Linked DNA regions of Homo sapiens: region 2 is linked to region 1. The links are contacts of gene promoters, found by promoter capture Hi-C in blood cells and fetal thymus (Javierre and others, 2016). All regions are on one chromosome and are shown on one strand. Each heading gives the region's core, a stretch centred on a gene start or on the middle of the fragment in contact. The rest is flanking DNA. Distances are from core to core; before and after follow the strand shown. Region 1 holds the start of FBXW11 (F-box and WD repeat domain containing 11). Region 2 holds the start of BOD1 (biorientation of chromosomes in cell division 1).

Evidence for each region. Contacts are between HindIII fragments. The CHiCAGO score rates a contact against its expected background, and 5 or more counts as called.
Region 2: the fragment with the promoter of BOD1 here is called in contact with the fragment with the promoter of FBXW11 in region 1 in 1 of 17 cell types (neutrophils); the score reaches 6.5 in neutrophils.

The regions. Positions count from the first base shown.
Region 1 is chr5:172,003,780-172,007,981 of GRCh38, reverse strand. It overlaps FBXW11 (F-box and WD repeat domain containing 11), which reads left to right and starts at 1,344. Exons shown (of 14, transcript NM_001378974.1): 1 at 1,344-1,524. The coding sequence starts at 1,480. RefSeq lists enhancers at 1,020-1,289, 833-1,460, 2,060-2,179 and silencers at 1,320-1,599, 1,610-1,719. The HindIII fragment of the contact is 14,963 bases long and covers 1-2,438 here.
Region 2 is chr5:173,614,365-173,618,360 of GRCh38, reverse strand. It overlaps BOD1 (biorientation of chromosomes in cell division 1), which reads left to right and starts at 1,711. Exons shown (of 4, transcript NM_138369.3): 1 at 1,711-2,161. The coding sequence starts at 1,925. RefSeq lists enhancers at 1,435-1,514, 1,535-1,794 and silencers at 1,775-1,844, 1,855-1,904. The HindIII fragment of the contact is 8,451 bases long and covers 1-3,996 here.

The DNA of each region.
Region 1 (4,202 bases), core at 95-2,594:
GAGTTTCGCCATGTTGCCCAGGCTGGTCTGGAACTCCTGCGCTCAAGCAATTCGCCTGCCTCGGTTTACCAAAGTGCTGGGATTACAGGCGTGAGCCACTGCGCCCGGCCAGGCTGCTGTTTCTTTATCTGCACAGCTTTAGCCTCAATCTAGAATTCCCTTCCTCTAGATAAGATGAACTGAGATGCTCAATCATGGAACGACCCTCTCTTCCTGACAGTATCTAATCCAGTGAAGCTCTCACTTCCTTAAACCCTCTCCCAAATCACTAACAACTCTTACCGAGAGGCCCTATCGTTCCTCAATGTGTGTTCTCAGTCACTGCAACTAGTAATAAACCCAGCTTGTTCAACGATCCGTGTCTTCCTGGTGGGATTTGGTTAGAGGGCACGGACAGACCTAAGTTACACAGAGTTGGAGGCTGAGTTCACTAGAAGGAGTCTCCGCTTGTGTGTTCCTTCTTAGCCACTCTTTTGGTTAGTGTCTGTCGTCCCTCCACCAGAATTAAGCTCCATGAGAACAGGAGCCTTGTCTGTCATGTTCAGAGCTGATTCTCAGCGCCTAGAACGGTACGCAGCGGAAGCTGGATGCTTAAAAAATAACCATTTTCTGAACGAATGAATGAGGGGCTCGATATACGCACGTCCCCTTTAATCTCGCAGCTCCTCGCAGATCGTGTGACATACAGACAGCACCACAGCACATTTCCCAAAACCCCGTCTTTCCCGAAGAAATCTCGAAACTCTCACTCCTGGGATGCCCATCCTCTCAGAGCCTCTTCCCCAGGCCGAGCTTCTCTCACTCGCTGGCCCCTTCCCACACCTGAGCCCCAGGTCTATACACCTTCCTAACGCACCTAGAACCCACCTGTCTCCACCATCTGCCCCTACCATCAGACACTGCCGGACGGGCCGCGCAGCTACCTAGGCGTCTAGGGAGCACTGCGGCATGGACCGCGCATGTGCGGAAATGGGTCGCATACGCAGGACCTCCGACAAGTGAGGAGTTGCCTCGGAGTTTCCGTCCCGGTCTGGGCAGCCTTGGGCTGCCAGGAAGTCAAGAGAAGCTAGCCGGAAGGACAACCCGGGCGCACGGCTTTCTGGGACACGTAGTCGTGGCGCTCTCGAGGCCCTGCCATGAGCAAGCTCTTAACTCTTCAGGTCTGCACGTCCTACGCCCACCGTCCAGTGCTACTCTCAGCTCGGAGTTCAGCTTCGGGCTGCCAAGAGCCAGCAACCTGGTGTCAGAGGCTCGGTCCCACAACGCTCTGCGGGCCGCGGCGCCTGCTGGGAGGTGTAGTCCCCGATCTGCGTACTGCGTTCGCCGAGGGGGAGGGCGGAGCTGCCGGCGGCCCGGGCGGGCTGGCAGCTAGAGTGGGTGCGATAGCCGCCTCCGCCTCTGCCGCCTCCGCCGTCGCCTCCTCCGCCCGGGCCGTTCGCTGCTGCGCGGGGAGAGCGAGGCGGGGCCGCCGGGGCCGCCATGGAGCCCGACTCGGTGATTGAGGACAAGACCATCGAGCTCATGGTGAGTGCGGCCCGCTGGACCGTCTGTGCTTCCGTCCGTCCGGCCCCGGGCGGGCCTGCCCACCTCAACGTCCGGTGCGAGGCCGGCTCTGGCCCTTCCCAGACGCCTCGACCCAGACCCGGGCCCCCAGCCTTCCCTGGCCTCGGACCTGGCGCGGGCTCCTCTGATCCCTCGACATCTCCGGCCGGTCCTGGCCCGGCCCCCTCCATGCCCCTCGCTTCTCCCCCTCCCCCTGGTCCCGTCTCCGGTCCCAGCTCTCGGACGACCCTCGCTCGTTTATGCTGTAGACTTAGGTCGCACTCGCTCTAGCACCCCATTCTCCTTCTTTTAGAAAGGGATTTTTTTTTCTTTCCTCTGTTTCGGCCCAGGCCCGCACCGCGCTTGCAAGCCCCACTCAGGCCGAGTGAGATGGTGGGAAGGAGTACGGAGATGGGTTGGGGCCGCCTGGGCCTCCGCGTCCTAGGAGAGGTCTCAGCACCCACTCCCCAGCCTAGGTCTGTGTGGATGCCAGGATAGGCCCTACAGAGCTGGGGGGGCAGGGAGCTTTCGGGTTTGAGGCTGTGGCGGATAAGGAGGCCTCTTTCCCGGGCCCTTGTGGTGTCCGGCTTCTCGGACAAAGGGTTTCCTACCCGGCGGAGAGGGATGTTTGCATAGCAAGGGCCCAGGTACTCTGGATTCCATCCTCCAGGAAAGAGAAGGCGCAACTTCACGTTTTCCAGAGCTGCTTTGGGAAATTGGAGATGACTGGGGAGGGAGCCATCCTCATCACTGCCGCGAGGTCTTTCTTCTCAGAAAGAAAAAAAAAAGAGGGGAATCCTTGGCCCCCGGGGGAAGCGACCACTCTTCTGTTAGAAACCACTGGCAGCCAGGCCAGACTCCCGGTCCGTGGACACCCTCCACCCTCCTCCGAAGCTTTAGGATTTGAAACCAGAAGGGGTTTTTAGGAACAGGACAGTGAGAGAGTGGCTAGAAGTGAAGAATTTGCTAATTGATGGATGATTTGGTGGAAGAAATAAAATATGGCAGATATTACCTGCCAACGTGAACATGAGGGAAATCAAATTGGGCTCTGGAGAGCTGGGAAGAGGAAGTCTGCATCAGCAAATGGACATGTCCAGGATTTCTTCCTATGGAAGCCTTGACAGTTTCTTTGTATCTTTCCTAACACGGTAACAACTTCTTCCCCAGGGTTGAGAGGAGAGGTGGAAGAATCTACTTAACCCAGCAAAATGTTTTCCTAGCCAGATTTTCTTCAGTGTGAAAATGTTTATTGAGTCAGTGATTCCACTGGGTAGGGTTGGTGACATCAGAGCCACTTCCCCCATTTAACGCTATAAATAATAAATGGTGACACTGAAAGTCTGTTGGATAGCTGCATGGTTTCTGTGGATGATGGTGTCTGGGGAGTTGAGATGCTTGTTTTAAAAATGGAAGTACAGTAGCATAAATATGGAGGCAGCTTAATGTTTGCTGTCCTTTGCATAATTCACAGAACTGGACTTCTCTAGCATTCTTGAAAACTAGGAGGGAAAAAAAGAAACTGATAGTTTTTGATTTTTGCATGCGTGTGTGTGTGTGTGTGTGTGTGTGCACGTGGGGTTGTTTTCAAAGGGATGTCACATACTGAGTGATTTTTCCTTTTCAGCATAATTTATCATACTTGTAGTCAAGTGTTTGGTATTCTGTAACTTTTGTAGTGGGTTATTTTGGTAACTATCTTAAATCGACTAAGTATATTACATATTCTTAAGAATGTACACACAGTGCATGTACTTACAACAGAAGTACTTCATATCGAAAAATTGTAACTTGGTGCCTCTTTGAAATTGGCTGTTCCCAGCTCCTTCCATTTCTATTCCTTTAAAAAATAACGAAAATGTATTTATTTTCAAAAGAATTATAAGAAATACGTTGTAACCCAAGTCAGTGTATGGTTACAAAATAAAAAAATAAAAACCTTTGGCCTAAATTCACTGGCTTCCTATGCTTATAACTTAAAAAGTTTTGATTTTACATGATAGCACTTGGTTTTGATCAGAAAAGAGATTTCAGCCTGTTAAGGACATTATAAACTGGGATTTAAACTGGAATTCTTTGAAAATTTAACAGAGTTTAGTTATATTACGATTAATTTTAAAATGGCCTTTTATTTAAGGATTTTGATATTTCCTGAAAGGGATATCAGTTAAGACTCTTAGACAACCCTTATCATAAATTAAATATGTGTATTTATTTTAGTAAAGTAGCACAGGTGCTTAACAACTGATTGAGTAAATCCAGGATCAAATGTAGGAAATAATGCCTTAGAATCTAATTGCATGTGGCTTTCTGTTTTCACTGCATTTCAATTACAGTTTCCAGAACTGGGTTAAAAATATTTTTTACATTGGTTTCAAGATAATACGATTGATGGAGGAAAAGGGGTTAAACTGATGGTGTTTTGAAAGCCTAAAGCATGAAATATTTTTAGATTTTTATGAGTCAGCTTCAGTACTCAAATATTTGTGATTGTGCTGCTTGTACCAGTTTGGCACTTAATGCTTAACAAGATAACTTTCATTTGCTGTTCCAAAGTGTGCTGTATTAAAAAGAGGAAACAGACTTCTTGGTTATCTCCATTTTCTAATCTTCATCCCTGTACTTTCCTTAATATTGATTCTTCTGTTTTTCCTTGCATT
Region 2 (3,996 bases), core at 462-2,961, 1.6 Mb before region 1:
TGAGGCAGCCTGAACTGGGCTTCTCCTGGGGTTAAAGGTGAGTGATCAGTGTAGAGTCAACCAGTAGGAACAGACATTAGGTAATCTCAAGGATGGTGAGCTATTAAGAGAGAATGTTTGTCATTAACTGACCCATTGTGAATGATTGAGCTGGTGTTAGAGGATGAGTATAATCCAACACCTGAATGTTTCTTTTGAGGGTTAATTTAAACTCTCTTGGACAGGTGTGGTGGCTCACACCTGTAATCCCAGCACTTTGGGAGGCTGAGGCGGGTAGATCACTTGAGGTCAGGAATTCAAGACCAGCCTGGCCAACATGGTGAAACCCCCATCTCTACTAAAAATACTAAAATTAGCCAGGTATGGTGGCATGCGCCTGTAATCCCAGCTACTCGGGAGGCTGAGGCAGGAGAATTGCTTGAACCCAGGAGGTGGAGGCTGCAGTGAGCCAAGATTGCACCACTGCACTCCAGCCTGGGCGATAGAGTGAGACTCTGTCTCAAAAAAAAAAAAGAAAAAAAAATTAAACTGTCTTGAGTACTAAATATTGGTGTGGAGAACATCCTGGATCTTTGCCAATTCTGCATCTTCGCAGGAGCCAAGGATATTGCAGAATTTGCTATTTACATCCCCTCTGCTGCTTGTGTAAGATGAGGAAACAACAATAGCAGACATAATTGCTGAGGTTGGGAGGGGGAGCTGAGCTAACAATAGGCAAAAGATGAAGGGAAGAGAGGATAATGGTGGCAGCTATAGGATTCCAATGGTGAATTGTGGCTACTTAAAAAAATCAGGATATAAAGCCTTACCTATTGTGGGATACCAACTAGCTCTCAGGATACCTCAGGCTAAAATGCAAGATTTAGATCCTCAAAACCTGGGTTCAAATCCTACTTTTCTACCTCTAGGTATGTGATTAGGTTAACAAACTTTCTTCTGCCTCCATTTCTACGTCTGTAAATAGCAATAATAGTAGTATGTATCTGCTTTTTTAAATTATCGTGAAGAAGTGCGTGGAAAGTGCATAGCATCACGCCTGACACTTTTCAATTATTCAATATTGGCTTATGATTGACAATATTTAATATTTGGGAGGAAATCCACACACATATAAGACAGACTTAAGGAAAACTTTTATTTTCTTCTTCACACTTTTCCGTTATTTTCCAATTTTCTAAAATGAGTATGCATTGCTATTAAAACCAAAAGGAGGGAAACTCACAAATTTCTGAACAATAGAAGTTTGACTGTTCCACTGTTTCCGGAATTTCCCGGAACATGTTGTTCAAGAAGGACGTGGGAGTGCATGCTGAAGCACAGATTGCTAGGTCTCGACCCGTAAATACTGGATAAAAATCTTTAAGAAATAATTCTGGTAATCTATACTTTTAATCAGCTCCACAGATGACTGTTATAATCGGGCACTGCTGGGACGTGTTGATTGAATGGGAAGTGAGCAGAGAGTGGGCGGGGAAGGCCTGGCGGGGAAGGCCTGGCGGGTTGCAGCGATCACGAGGCCTGCGCCTACAGTTCCCATATTACCCCGCGAAATCGCGACGAGCAAGCACGAACCCTGCCGGGAGTTGTAGTTTCTCTCGGCTAGGCCGCTGCCTATAAAGAACGCCGGAGATGGCCACAGAAAACTTCCCGCCCCACAATGCAAAGGTCAACGTTGACGCCATCTGGGGTGCGCCTGGAATCGAGCAGGCCGTTTCTGCCGCGTCCACCACAACCTCTGCTGTATCAGAGGGGGCCTTCGCCGCCGCCGCCCCCACCACCGCCCCTGCCGCCATCGCCACCTCCGCCGCTGCCGCCTTGGGGCCCTCCTCCTTCACCGCCCCCTTCACCACCTCTACACGTTCTAGGCCTTCTGTCCTGGAGAAGAAGCTATAGTCGTTCTCCCTTGTGGGCCCGGGGCGCAGCCATGGCGGACGGCGGCGGCGGCGGGGGAACTGGCGCGGTGGGCGGCGGCGGAACTAGCCAGGCCTCTGCCGGGGCAGCGACTGGCGCTACTGGGGCCAGCGGGGGCGGTGGCCCCATCAACCCGGCCTCGCTGCCTCCCGGCGACCCGCAGCTCATCGCTCTCATCGTGGAGCAGCTCAAGAGCCGGGGCCTTTTTGACAGCTTCCGCCGGGACTGCCTGGCCGACGTGGACACCAAGGTAGCTGCGGCCGCCTGGGCGTTGGGGAGCGGGGCTGCACGTGAGGCCGCCGGGTGGCAGCTTTGATTTTCGAAAGCCGAGAGCAAAACAAAAGATAGCTTAGAAATCTCAGCGGTGAGGTCTTACACCGCTTGGGGCAGTACGGAGAGCTTTCTGAGCGATGCACACGTGGGTTCCTGCCTGATACATTTACTACTAGTTGTGATTTTACCCAGTCCCTTCTCCGAACTTGGGGTTTCAATGTGGGTTTTAGAGCCTAGACCGTATCATTCCCAAGATGGAACTCCTCTGAGGCCCTTAATAACAAACTTCGAAACCAAGTAGATAAGCAAGCGTGCTTTAGAATTTCCACCTGTTCCGTACTCACCACTGAGAAGCTGGCATTAAACACAATGATTTGAACACACAGTCATCACCATTTTATAGCTGTTTATTCCTTTTCTCTAGCTCATTGTTTTGCAGACTAGTACGGCGTTGAATTAAGATAAATTGTAGAAACAGCACCCTTATTTTGCACTTCATCATTGATAAAAGGAGATTTGGTGCCTAGTTGAGATCCTAATGCCATTGGTCAGTCCCACCAGTAAAACGCTATTTCACTTTACCTACTCGTCAGGGTGGTTTGGATTCAATGAAATAATGGGTGTTAAGTATCAGACATACAGTAGTTGCTGGAATGTTCATTTTCTTCCTTTTCAAAACTTGTCTAGCCACGACTGTGGTTGTAGGTTAGGAGACCCTGTCACTGGACTCCTGCAGGGTAGTGATTTCTCCTACCAGAGCCTGTCATGGAAACATTTTGCTTACCTCACAGCAAGATTGTGAGCTTAGAATTAGACCTTAAGATAGGGAAAAACGTAGTCTGTTTATTCGTTGAACGTTTATTGGCCTCTAGTTGCCAAGCTGTGCGATTACAGGAATAAGTCACTACCCCATCCTCAAAACTTATAGTCTAGGTTAGAAAACTGACATGTAAATAAACCAGGTGGTAAATACGGATGTAGAGAGAGAAAGTGGTATACACTGTTCCTTCTCCAAGATGAAAAGCCCAACTAGAAGTCTGTCCTTGAAACAAAGTAATTTAATACATATACATCCCAGATCTGTATTGACAGAGCTTTCACCTTTCCTAGGACAAGTTCTCCATTCATATTTCTTATATTCCGTTAGGTTTTGTGTGTGATTTTAAAACAAAAGCGACTACAGTAGCCCGCCCCATCCAAGGTTTTGCTTTCTGCGGTTTCATTTACCCAATTGTTGCGGTATGGAAGTACTTGTGTTCAGGTAACCCCTATTTTACTTCATAATGGCCCTCAAAGACATTCATGCGTAGTGTATATAGGGTTCAGTACTACCTGAGGTTTCAGGCACCCACTGGGGATCTTGGAACGTATCCCCTGAGGGGGGAGGGGACTACCCTCTTGAGCGGCTGGTGAGGGAGAGTGGTTGGAACCTTCCCATGTACAGCTCCTTAGCTGTTCCTTCTGAGAATTCCAGGTTGTTTTAGTTCTTGAAGATAGTGTTTTTTCAGGCATATCTTATCTGAGACCTTTGTTGCTTCAGCCCAGTGGTTCTCAAAGCGTGGTGCTTGGATTAACATCAGCATCACCTGAGAACTTGTTAGAAATGCACATTTTGGGCCCCACCCCAGACTGCTGAAGTATTTAGGGGAAATTGAACAGATGTCTGTAATTTACTTTGCACTGTAATTTACTTTGAACTGATAAGTGAACAGGTGGAGGGGTTGGTAGTACAGTAAAACGTTATGAGTGGGCTCATGAGTTCCTTTGACTTCTTGAACTGAGATGATTCTGTATCGCCTGGGTTTGTTACGT